Linked DNA regions of Homo sapiens: all the other regions are linked to region 1. The links are contacts of gene promoters, found by promoter capture Hi-C in human tissues and cell types (Jung and others, 2019). All regions are on one chromosome and are shown on one strand. The core of a region is centred on a gene start or on the middle of the fragment in contact, and the rest is flanking DNA. Distances in the headings are between cores, read along the strand shown.

Region 1 (3,175 bases), core at 8-2,507:
TAAAATGATGACAATCTTCTCAATTTATTTTTGTCTTAGAAAATATAGTTATTTTTAAAGTGTGATTTTTATTACCATGGAATGGAGTTTTATATTATTTTAAATGAATTAATAAATACATTTTAAAAATTCTGCTTTAATTTCTAATACAGCAAATATCGATAAATAACCCACATAAACAAAAGTTCTTTGGAGTCCTCAGTAATTTCCAGGAGTATAAAGAGGTCCTAAGGCAAAAAAAAAAAAAAAAATTACTAATTGGGAGACACAAGTGTCAGAATATACAGTAATTGTTCAGTAATATTGCTGTAAATTAATTAATAGGATTGCCTAGTCACAACAGCAAAGGCATGGAATCAACCCAGATGCCCATCAGTGGTGGATAGGATAAAGAAAATGTGGTCCATATACACCATGGAATACTATGCAGCCATAAAAAAGAACAAAATCATGTCCTTTGCAGCAACATGGATGCAGCTGGACATCATTATCCTAAGTGAATTAACACAGAAACAGAAAACCAACCACTCATGTTCCCACTTATGAGTGACAGCTAAACACTGGGTACTCGTGGACATAAAGGTGGGAACAATAAATGCTACGGATTCCAAAAACGGGGAAGGAGGCAGGGGAAAGGGGTTGAAAAATTACCTGTGGGGTACTATGTTCACTACTTGGGCAACGGGATCATTAGAAACCCAAACCTTAGCACCATGCAGTATATCCATGTAATAAACCGGCACACATACCCCCCGAATTTAAATTAAAAAAAAATTACATTAAAAGATAGGAGTACCTCCTTTACACCACCTGAATTATCATGGCACATAAATCTCACACCCTATTTGCCAAGGCCATTCGTTCCTAGCTGTTTTACAGGTAGGTTAGCTTTCTCAATGCAAGTCTGTGGGACGGATGGAGAAAAATTCCCCGAGCCCTTTGATCCTGCCCCAGCTGGGCCCCGCCGCGCTGAGCCTTGGGCGCGCCCCCTGCTGCCCGCGGCCGGAGCCGTTCGCCACACCCCCGTGTTTATGTCGGTCCACGGGGGTTGCCTGTCCCTTTAATTGGCATGTACCAAGTCCTTCCAGGTCACATTTCCTCCCTACGTCCCAGCCGTTTGGACTCACTGGCCAAAAGTCCAAGAGGACGGAATGTGGAGACAGTGTTGTATTTTTGCGGGGAGTTCTAGGCCGACCGGGAGCGAGAGAACGCTCGGGGGCGAAGCGCGCCATTGCGGCCCTCCCCGCCGCCTGCGGTAGTCCAGTCCCAAGATGGCGGCCACCATGAAGAAGGCGGTGAGTGGGGAGCTCGGGGCTCTGGATGCTCGGGCGGCGCCGGATCTCGGCCGCTGGGGCCCGGGCGCGGGATGCTGGGGGTGCGCAGCTCCGAAGCCCGGCGTGGGACCCGAGGCCGAGGCCGAGGCCCTGAGAGCGGTCCCGCGGCAAGGCCTGCTCGCGCCTGGCGCCCTGAGCGTTTTCCTAGGCACCTGGCCAGCCGAGGCGGGGCGCCGGGGCTGGGGCCGGGAGCCTCGAAGGACGCAGGTCCGCCTCCCGCGATGCCGAGGGTGCCCCCGGGGAGTCTGAGGAACCTGCAGCCCCGGCCTCGCCCCTGAGGTGTGGGAAGCCGAAGGTCCCGTTGAGTGTGGTTGGCCTTGACTCGGGCGTTGCACCGGCATGATCGCATTAGCCTCACTGGTTATGGGTAGCTGCTGCTGGGAGCGTGGTTACGGGTGAGGAAACTGAGGCCCAGAGATGGGGAGTCACCTGCCCGAGGTTACGCAGCTCATAACGGGGACAGCAGGTTCCTGCATCCCCAGATTAGCAGGCCCCAGAGACCCTGTGTCCAACCTGGAGCTGCCCATTTCCACGCTTGATGCCCCTGAGTCCTTCAGGCTAAAACCAGTATTTATTGAGAATGGAAGATGTGCCGGGCCCAGCAGCCGGCCGTTTATCTGTTATCCTCCCCGCAACTCAGCAAGTGCAATGGGTTCCTCTCCACTTTGCAGGTAGAGAAACTTAGACACAGAGCAGTTAGAGGCCCTAAAGTGACTCAGCTAGTAAGAAGCAGAGCTGGAGTTCAAACTCAGGTTTGTTTTTGTTTTTCTCAAAGCACGCCTGTGTAACCACTAAGCCGGCTAAACTTCCATGTGGGGTTTTTAATCCCGTGAGCCTTCCCAGATGTGTAAAGATAGTCAGATAGAAGAAAAAGAAAATTGGAGAGGGGGAAGGAGATAACGGCTGATAATTTGGGGAGCTTTACAGTGTGCTAGGTACAGCTGTAAGTTGTTTTGCGTGTATTGTTTATTTTATGTTCTTTGAGGGAGATACTGTTTTTATCCTTATTTAACAATGAGAAAACAGGCGCGGAGGCAAAGCTAGCATTTAAACACAGGCATTCTGACTCCGGAGTCTGTGTTTTAAACTGCTATAGGGGGTCTTTGATGAGAATCTCTTGGCTGGAGGGATTTGCGTTCATTCCACTTTTAAGACCACATTAGAACTTCTTTGCTTTGCCCCTATCCAGTACCACATAGTCTATGCCATCTGTGCCTGGTGTAGGGTGACCCATTGCCCCCTTTTATATGAAATTGAGGGACTGCCAAAAATGGGAAAGCCCCAGCCAACTCAGGATGTGTTGCTCACCCTACTATTCTGCCATCCAAAAATTCTTACTGTGTCCCAGAGTAGGGTCTAGGGCCATGGTGATTCAAAAAAGTATGAAACTTTGTGAGATTCACTTCACCTCTAGTTTGTTAAATTGGGCCCTCTGGTGTTAGGTATGGCCTTTAATTCCTTGGAAGATACTAGTTGTGGTTCACTCCGTTTTATAGGTATGGAAACTGAAGTGCAGAGAGGTGAAGTAAATGGTAGAAGAGGAAATGGCAGAAGAATGATTTGAACCTTGGATTTTGATTGCAAAATTTCTAATTACCAACTTTTTTTTTCCTTTCATTGATTCAGTAAATTTTCGGGGGCACGTAATATGGCGTAGTCTCAGTTTTAAGTGGAGACAACTGTGGTGACCAGTGAGAAAGCTCTTCTCCCCTTAATCTCATAGCCCCAAAGAACGTATGTTCCAGGGCAGAGCAGGCATTACTCAGATAGTCAGACAGAAAACTAGTTTCTCTGATGAGAACTGTGAAGGAAAAGTGCTTATGAAATGAGGGCCAAAATGA
Region 2 (3,168 bases), core at 156-2,655, 610 kb before region 1:
TAAACAAGAAACTTCATTTAACTTTATGAAAACAAATGACTATGAGCCTTGCTACACAACAAAGAAACTATGACCAAGTGGAACCAGGTTGAGCCTGAAGTGTAACCTCATTCTACATGTTAATGGATAACCTTTGAACTCCGAGACCTTGAATGCTGTAAACACAATAGCACTGATAGTTAAAAATTCTAGTGTCAAAATCGAGCAAAAAGAAAAGTCCAAACTTTTCAGGGGGAATAGGGAAACAATCAAATATTTTGACAAATAATCGTTTCAGTAAGAACAAGGAGATTCCTGGCTCTCAGACCTTGTTGCTACTGAATTATTTTCTGAGCAAAAACGGTTGTGCTTGTTTTCCCCCTGTGCCCTCCAAAGCTACCACTTTGTTCACATTATAGCATCATGATTTGTTACTGTTTCGCCGCCTCTCTCAAAAAAAAAAAAGAGAGCGCCTTATTATGTTGTAGCTTTTAAAACTGAAAGATGATTATAATTCACTGATCTGTCTGCTAAGAGTTTTATTTATATGTGATCCTCCTTATGTTTGAGCAAAGAATTACAAAGAACCTTGTCCTGGAGTCGTGCCAACGAAACTGGGAAATCGTTGCAAAATTCTGCCAGTGACTGACTGCTGGGTTGCAAATACATACTGTGTTTTCAGAAGGACATAGAGGGATCTGAATTCGCCTGGGAGGGCTTTTCCCTAAGACACATTCTTCCCTTAGAATGTGAGACTCATACTTCCCATTTATTTGGAAAGCATGTATAGTTCAAACAATTAAAATATGGAAACTCCAAAAGTAACAGGAGAACACTGGAAGCATTTGGTTTTGTAATAAAAGCTAGGAACTCATACTGCACAAAGTGAAAATTGAAAATCGAACGTTGGTCTTCCTATGCTTAGCTCCACCCACAAGAAATCCAGCTTCGCCATCACTCCCTGCGTAGGCCATCTCTAAAGGAGTCAGGTGCTACTAGATGCCAGCAAAAAAACAAAGAATGGAACCAAAAGAGAAGCTCTGCACATGGTACTTGGAGAAGGGGCAGAAAATCCCCACTTCACCTTCTTTCAATGCAGCAAACATCAGCTACACCTCATTTTTCACAATCATCCAAACAGGCCCTCCTTAAGACATATTTCCTAGTATGCGCTTATAAAATCACACCATTATCTCTAATTTAATCCTAGTGATATAAGGCCTCTTCGTTTAGCCAACATCTGATTTTCTATCCAGATCCTGCCAGTCACAGCATGCTCAGATCTAGTAACATAACAAAAAAAAAAAAAGAAAAAAAAAAAAAAAACTTCTGATTTGCTGTATTTAACACTTACTGGAATCCTCTTTTGAGACTCAGCCTTAATTAGAAGAACAGAATGAGGTAGGATCTTCTTATTTCACAAGACGTTATTTTACTGTGGAACTATTATAGAAAAACTATTTGGAAACTGTGTGTAAATCCCTGGAGCTGAAACAGAGCCAACATAGATACGGGACGTAAAAGAATTCAGTGTTCAGAGCAGGAAAACCTGAAAAACTGCAGTGAGGAGTTAGCAGGAAAAGAACATGAAAAAGTTAGGCAAACCTGCCAGCATCTGCAAACTACAAAGGACATTTGAGAAGGAAACAGGGACAGCCCTTTGAACAAGACTAAATGCACTCAAGTAAGTAGGAATAACAAACAGCTCGAAGGAGCACCACATTGCTCTTTTCTATTAAGTTTCTTGATCCCATGCAAGTCACTCTTCTGTAAAGTATCACAATAATATACTATTAAAAAAATATATTTATATATATGTATATATATATATAGCAGAACTTACCTTTCAGAAGAGAAGGCAGGGTCTGGAACCTGATAACTCTGTAGGACTTCACTCTACCTGGCTCCAAACAATACTGGAAGAGATGTGATTGCGGGTTTTTATAAGCACAGCAAAAAGGGAGGGGTCAAGAATAAGACTTAATTTAAATAAAGGTTTCAGTACCCTCCCAACTTGATTGGATTAGTCAATCTTGATAAGGTTGACAGCATTTTTTAACTGGATTTGTCCTATTCGATGAGTGCCCTCCCCCACTGCAAACACAACTCATGACTCCTCTAATATTCTGGATAGTTTTCTGAAATTACCTTCACTCAAAATGTTAATGTAAAAACTCCCTTAAAAATTGCACACAAAACACAACACTGGGAACGCCTCTTTAAAGTTTTCTGCCTTCATTAGATATTCCAAACAGGAAGTTTTGGAATGAGGGACGGAGGGGAAGAAGAGGGTGACTAACATTAATTGAAATTCAATCATCATTATAATCTCAAGCCAGAATCTTAAAATCTAATCAGGATATTTCATCTCCATCTACTCCACCCTACACAGACCTTGCATCCATCAGCAAACCTTCATATGTCTCAATTGTGTCCATTTATCTTTATCTCTAACAAAAGCCTACACCAGGTACCACTGGCAGGTGCCATGCACGTGAACGCGGAGTCTGCTGTTGGAAATGTGTTGGGAAGGGAGAGTTCCCGGTAAGAATTATGTATTTAGGAGCTTTCCAAATACTGATGGCATGTTGAGCCATCAGACTGGATAAAATCACACGAAAGAGGTGCTAGTATTGGGCCCTTGGGTGGTTCAGCGCCTGGAAGTCAAGGAGAAGAGAAAGAGAGCAAAGGGGACTGAGAGGGAGCAGGCAGTGAGGTCTGAGGGACCGCAGGAGAGCATGGGGACCCAAATGCAAGGGAAGAAAGGGTGTCAGCTCCATCACGTGTTCTCCTCCAGACAGAGACAGTACTGTATATGCAGGTTTCTCCAAACTTCTTCCTTTCTAGGTTTCCCTTAATGCTTTCTCTACCTATAATCCAAGACTTTTACCCAAAAAGACTTTTACCACGGATATCAGATAAATTCACCACCCCTTAATGGCTTCCTATTGCCTTGAGGGAAAAAAAACTCCACAGCTTCCCCCACCAGCTCTGCAGATCTGGTCCCTGCCTAACTCCAGCCTCAAGTCCTGGCAAGCCCTTCACTGAGGCATCTGAACTCCAGCCTTCTCTCTGACCTAGAGCCTTCAGCCCTGGGGTTCCCCTTGCCTAGCACCTCCTTTCTCATTCTCTTCAAGAACTTGGCTTCTGTTCTGAGAGTGGTTTAAAACCCCTAGTTCCCTGGGAGGG
Region 3 (2,996 bases), core at 429-2,928, 800 kb before region 1:
CTTGAAAAAGGTCTTCAGAATTCACATCTTTGTTTTCTTTTCTTTTTTTTTTTTTTTTTTTTTTTTTTTTTTGAGACGGAGTCTTGTTCCGTCGCCCAGACTGGAGTGCAGTGGCGCTATCTCGGCTCACTGCAAACTCTGCCTCTTGGGTTCAAGAGATTATTCTGTCTCAGCCTCTTGAGTACCTGGGATTACAGGTGCATGCTACCACACCTGGCTAATTTTTGTATTTTTAGTAGAGACAGGGTTTCACCATGTTGGCCAGGCTGGTCTTGAACTCCTGACCTCAGGTGATCCACCCACCTCGGCCTCCCAAAGTGCTAGGATTACAGGCGTAAGCCACCGTGCCTGGTTTTGTCTGCCATTTTTAATGTTCACTCTGAGAATCAGAGGGCGCATCCCAGGATGAAGGTGACTCTGGGACATGCTGACCGCAGCTACCCTCCCTGACTTACCACTTACATAGATCAGGCCATGGGCTCTCCCCTACTTTCACTCAGCCTTCAAACCACCAGCTCCACCAGCTTCCTCATCAAACTTGCTTTCTCCAGGCACATCCCTGAGCAGAATTCACTTAAAAGTTACTGATGTAAGAAAAAACAGAGCAAATCAAGGCACCTGTAAGTTATGCCAAGGCACCTGTAAGTTATGAAAAAGGTCTCAGTACGATAACAAAATCGGTGGAGGAGGAGGCATAGCATTTGAATTAAATCAACTTACAAAACACATAACTCTCTGGGCTTGGCATACATAACAACCTAAGAAGAAGTTTGGGAATTCTGTTATTATCGTCACATTATTATTATTATTATTATTATTATTATTATTATTATTAGCTGTGTTATATTTATGAAAATGTAAAATCCATGGTATTGATCATAAGCACCTTTTTTTTTTTTTTGGCACGGAGTCTCGCTCTGTCACCCAGGTTGGAGTGCAGTGGAACTATCTAGGCTCACTGCAGCCTCTGCCTCCCAAGTTCCAGTGATTCTCCTGCCTCAGCCTTTTGAGTAGCTGGGATTACAGGCATGCACCAGGACGCCTGGGTAACTTTTGTATTTTAGTAGAGATGGTGTTTCACCATTTTGGCCAGGCTGGTCTAGAACTTTTGACCTCATGTGATCCACCTGCCTTGGCCTCCCAAAATGCTGGGATAACAGGCATGAGCCACCATGCCCGGCCATTGGTACCATTTTTAAAGCACTTTAATATGAGCTGTAATTCAATGTTCCCTGGATCCTGCTCCTTCAAGTCAAATATTAGTGCAAATGCCACTTATGAAACACTTTCCTGTTCATAACTGTGAACCATGTTCAGCATTTTGGGGGTATCTTCTTCTATAAGACGGGAAGTGGGGCCTTCATGTCACAGAAGAGTGAGTGGAGGCTACGTTTGACCTGAAGTTTTTCTACAGCTAGGACCATGGCCTTGGCCTCCCTCAACCTTCCTGACATGATGTGGAGTCCCAGGGGCCTCCAGTCTCAACTCATCCCAGACTTGGCATGAACTTATGTAAAGGGAGAAAACTGTGAGCACTTCCCTAAAATCTAAGGGCAGCCTGCGGACTCTGGGTCTCCAAGTGAGCTCCATGTCTTGGCCTGGGGCAATTAGGAAACAGTGGTTAAGAGCAGAGCTTTAGAATCTGACAGACCTGGCCTCAAATCCCAACTCCTACTGTGAGCCCCTAGGACACTTAACATAAGCTCTCTGAACCTGTTTCCTCACCTTAAAAAAAGTAACTTAAGAGTACCTAAGGCTGAGGATGATGGCTCACATCTGTAATCCCAGCACTTCGAGAGGCTAAATTGGGAGGACTGCTCAAGGCCAGGAGTTTGAGACCAACCTGGGCAACATAGTGAGACCTCGTCTCTATAAAAAACTTAAAAATTGGACAGGTAGGTTGGCACGTGCATGTAATCCCAGCTGCATGGGAGGCTGAGGCAAGAGGATATCTTCAGCCTAGGAAGTCAAGGCTGCAGTGAGCTCTGTTCAAGCTACTGCACTTAAGCCAGGATGACAGAGCAAGACCCTGCCTCAAAAAATAAAATAAAATAAAAAAAAGAGTACCTATCTCATAGATGGAATTAAATTAGCCTATTCAAGCAAGAACATTTAACAAAGAGTCCCACACATAATGAGCATTAAATAAATGTTAAAACATGCATACATGTTGAATAGGCATGTTGCCTGAAGGGTGATCAAAGCATCATTTTCTTTCTTTCTTTCTTTCAATTCTGTTCAGAGGGAATAAACATTCCCCTCCCTTGAATAAGACTTCAGGCAACTCATGACTTTTCTGCTCACTCTTAGCAGGGACGAGCCCATGGTCCCATTAAGACTCAGTTCACAGATCCAATTCAGAGTCAGAAAAGTCAGGTTAACACGTCCGGTCCTGCTCTGGGCTGGAGGCACCCAGTGGGAAATTGGAGAAGGGCTCGATTCTTCTCTATGGCTGCTCCTCTGGTCTCCTCCCCAGCCTGCTGACAATAGCTTCAGGATAGTTAGAAAAGGGAATGGGACAAGAAAGGTCCCAGCCCTGGAGCAAGGCTACTGGTTCCCAGCCTGTGTGCTCCAGGAGAATGATCAAAGCTGACCCATTGTTGGTTTTGTTTTTATTGTGGTAAATTACACATAGGATAAAATTTACGCTTTTAACCATTTTTAAGTGTACAGTTCTGTGGCTTTAAGTGAATACAAACTGTTCCACAACCATCACCACCATCCATCTCCAGGGAAACAAGCTAACTCTTGATTTCTGGGCACTCACGGGTTCTGTGGACGGTTCCCTCTGGGCCGCCACTTATGAAGTTCCCTGCTCCGGGCAGAGGCCTCCGTCTCTCAGGGGGTGCACAGTGACTCTCCACGCTGCTTCCAAATGTCAAGGGTCCACCTTCAGCCCCTGACTAAGGGACAGCCTCATTAAACACGCCTCAGCACCACCACCCACAGGCTCTCTCCCCTGCAGGGCCTGTAACAATCACTCCCCACTCCTTCCC
Region 4 (2,723 bases), core at 173-2,672, 520 kb after region 1:
TTTAGCTAAGAAAGGTGTGTGCTATTTATTTATTTATTTATTTATTTAATGTTTTTAGAAATGAGGTCTCTCTCTCTATTGCTTCCCTGTCACCCAGGCTGGAGTGCAGTGGTGCAACTGTAGCTCACTGCAGCCTCAACAAGTGATCCTCCTGTCTGCGCGTCCTGAATAGCTGGGACTAAAGGTGTAAGCCACTGCACCCAGCAGGTGTGTTCTATTAAAAATATTGGTTTTGTAGGTTTCACAAGAGAATGATTTTACACTGGACACACAGAAAATAAATTACGTTGGCCTACGTTAAAAGGGGTCCAAAACCTAGATCAACATTTCCTTCTTTTGCCACATTCATGAAGCTAATATTCTTTAAATGCTTACTATGTGCTAGGCACTTTACTAATTACAATGCTAAATGCTTTTTATGCAACATCTCACTTGTTCCTCCCTAAAGCCTCGTTAGGTTGTTCCCTTTTACCGCACACATTCTCAGTTCCATGCCTGTATCTCTTGGATCTTTTGGCATATTCTAGCCTTCTCTGTGTGTGAGAGTTCTTCACCCATCCCTAACCTTCACAACCAACTACAGGAAGCCTTGCTGCCCACACGAGTGTTCAGCCAGCCAGATGTGGCTTGGATTTAATAGCCCTGGATAGCAGCCCTCACCCATTGACTTTCATGAGTTACAAATTTCCTGAGAATAGGGTGATTCTCATGCTTGAGTTTTGCAGTAGCACCATTTCTCCTTTAAGGGATTAAGCTTCCGTTGCCCATTGTGGTAGCAGAGTTAACATCACACTGTCTGCTGGCCGCCTTTCCTTCCCTCTACCACCTTTCCACTTCCTCCTGGTGCTCTCAACTCTTTCCATATAACCTGCACTCAAAGCTGTAGCTCAGGGTCTGCTTCTTGGAGCACATGAAGAAAAACATTACTATTATCCCATTTTTGCTGTTGAGGGCCTTCAAGCTCAGAGAAGTCAATGAAGTTGCACATAGTAACATGGCTAGAGAGTGGTGAAATCAGGAATCAATCTAAATTTGTCTGACTCCAAAGGCAAAATTAAGAATGAATGGGAAGTTAGTGGGAATTCTCTAGTGTCCACATAATTTAGATATGTTATATGTGGAGAAAGAGAGCTGATCTCTTGAATGAGTCTCATTTGTTTGCTACTTTAAATGAATTCTCCAGATACTTTTAAATTTTTTTTTTTGGTTACCTGAGGAGACATAGTCTAAATTACAAGAGGCTTAATTTTTTTTTTATCATTACTCATTAGAAAACACTAAATTAATACTGTAAGACTTCAGATTCATCAGATTAGAAGAAAGGGGTTCATAATGATAATCATAATTATAACAGTAATAACACTAGCAAATATGTGTTGAGTCTTCCTCCATGCCAACTCCTAAGCTTACGGCTTTACCTGGATTCTCTCATTTTATCCTTCTTGCAAGCCATTGGTAGTAACCCATTTAGAGATGAGATATCTGAGACCAGGCTAGGATAAGTGCTTTGCCTACGGTCTCACTTATTATAAGTGTCAGAACTGAAATTTAAATCCAGATGGTTTGGTTTTAGAAAATACCTTCTGTGAAGGTAATTTTCTTTCTGCTAATTTTCTTTCATTTTCATTGAATATTGGCCTCTACTAAGAGTCCAGTTAATTTATTAATTAAAACCTGACAGATTCTGAAATAGTGACTTTTGAAAACCATAGCAACATAAGACTATTTGGAAATAGAAGTCAAGTTCCTAAAGGATTTTTAAGTGCAAGCTTTTATTCTCCTTTCGTTTATAATTCTTTTTTTAGTCTTCCCAAACCTCACCCAAGAAGTACTTGTTCCCTGGACCTACATGTCCACACTTTTTTTTTCTCCTAAGCTATGAACTAGTTTCTCTGTGGGCAGTCTTTCTCTGAGGGCCTGAAAGAAGTAAATTTTTAGTGTGTGTTTGTTATATGTGTGTGTATACACAAGAAAGAGGAGGTATACACATGTATGTGTGTGTATATATGTATCATTTGTATATAAACAAATTTTATGTGTGTATATAATTTCTTGGAGAAAATGGAAAATTTAGAACTTTTAAGCCTTTGGATAGATTTGATAACTTGGGCTTTGTATTACGGTTCTTGCTATTTGTGATATCTATTTAAACAATGTCCGTATATAGAGAGAGTTCAAGTATTGGTTTTGGTATTCTCTGTTTATTCCTAGAATCTGTATACCTTCCATTATTAAATTTTGCATAGAATGTAAGCAGTGCTTCTCTTTCGGATAAATATTCCCATTTTTCATGTCCATTATTTGACTTAAAGTAACACCCTTGCTATTAATGTTTAGGAATAATTCTTCATATTTTAATTAAGTATTGTATATCAGACACTGTGCTTGATTATACATGTATTATAGTTATACCAACCAGTATTTATTGAGTGCTTGTTTTGTGTCAGGCATTGCTTTAGGTGTTGAAAATACAGAGGTGTATAAAACAGGGATGGTCTTTATCCTCGGAGAGCTTACTATTTTATTTAGCTTTCCACAATCTTTTAAAGTTTCTAAGATGATTCTCATTTGGTAAATTGAGAAACTGAAGATCAAAGGGGTTTAATTATTTTTTTAAATTTCTAAAACTGGCAAAATGGAGGAACCGGGTCTTTTTTTTTTTTTTTTTTTTTTTTGAGATGGAGTCTTGCGTCTTGCTCTGTTGCCCAGGATGGAGTGCAGTG

Evidence for each region. Contacts are between HindIII fragments. The study calls those that stand out against the background at their distance.
Region 2: a contact is called between a fragment that was not itself captured here and the fragment with the promoter of PFDN4 in region 1, in 1 of the 25 tissues and cell types used here (dorsolateral prefrontal cortex).
Region 3: a fragment that was not itself captured here is called in contact with the fragment with the promoter of PFDN4 in region 1 in 1 of the 25 tissues and cell types used here (lymphoblastoid cells).
Region 4: a fragment that was not itself captured here is called in contact with the fragment with the promoter of PFDN4 in region 1 in 2 of the 25 tissues and cell types used here (heart left ventricle and thymus).

The regions. Positions count from the first base shown.
Region 1 is chr20:54,206,830-54,210,004 of GRCh38, forward strand. PFDN4 (prefoldin subunit 4) reads left to right here and starts at 1,258. Exons shown (of 4, transcript NM_002623.4): 1 at 1,258-1,295. The coding sequence starts at 1,272. It overlaps LOC124904937 (a long non-coding RNA gene), which reads right to left and starts at 1,212. Exons shown (of 2, transcript XR_007067669.1): 1 at 1,128-1,212; 2 at 117-227. RefSeq lists enhancers at 655-1,472, 1,013-1,332, 1,473-2,289 and a silencer at 1,323-1,592. The HindIII fragment of the contact is 11,424 bases long and covers 1-3,175 here.
Region 2 is chr20:53,595,809-53,598,976 of GRCh38, forward strand. It overlaps a transcript of ZNF217 not described here. Among named protein-coding and RNA genes, the nearest start is that of ZNF217, 3.6 kb to the left of the region's middle. RefSeq lists enhancers at 852-901, 2,492-2,992. The HindIII fragment of the contact is 4,381 bases long and covers 1-3,168 here.
Region 3 is chr20:53,409,793-53,412,788 of GRCh38, forward strand. The region is part of intron 2 of TSHZ2 (teashirt zinc finger homeobox 2); the gene reads left to right. Among named protein-coding and RNA genes, the nearest start is that of TSHZ2-AS1, 93 kb to the right of the region's middle. The HindIII fragment of the contact is 9,977 bases long and covers 1-2,996 here.
Region 4 is chr20:54,728,750-54,731,472 of GRCh38, forward strand. No RefSeq gene overlaps it. Among named protein-coding and RNA genes, the nearest start is that of DOK5, 250 kb to the left of the region's middle. The HindIII fragment of the contact is 5,560 bases long and covers 1-2,723 here.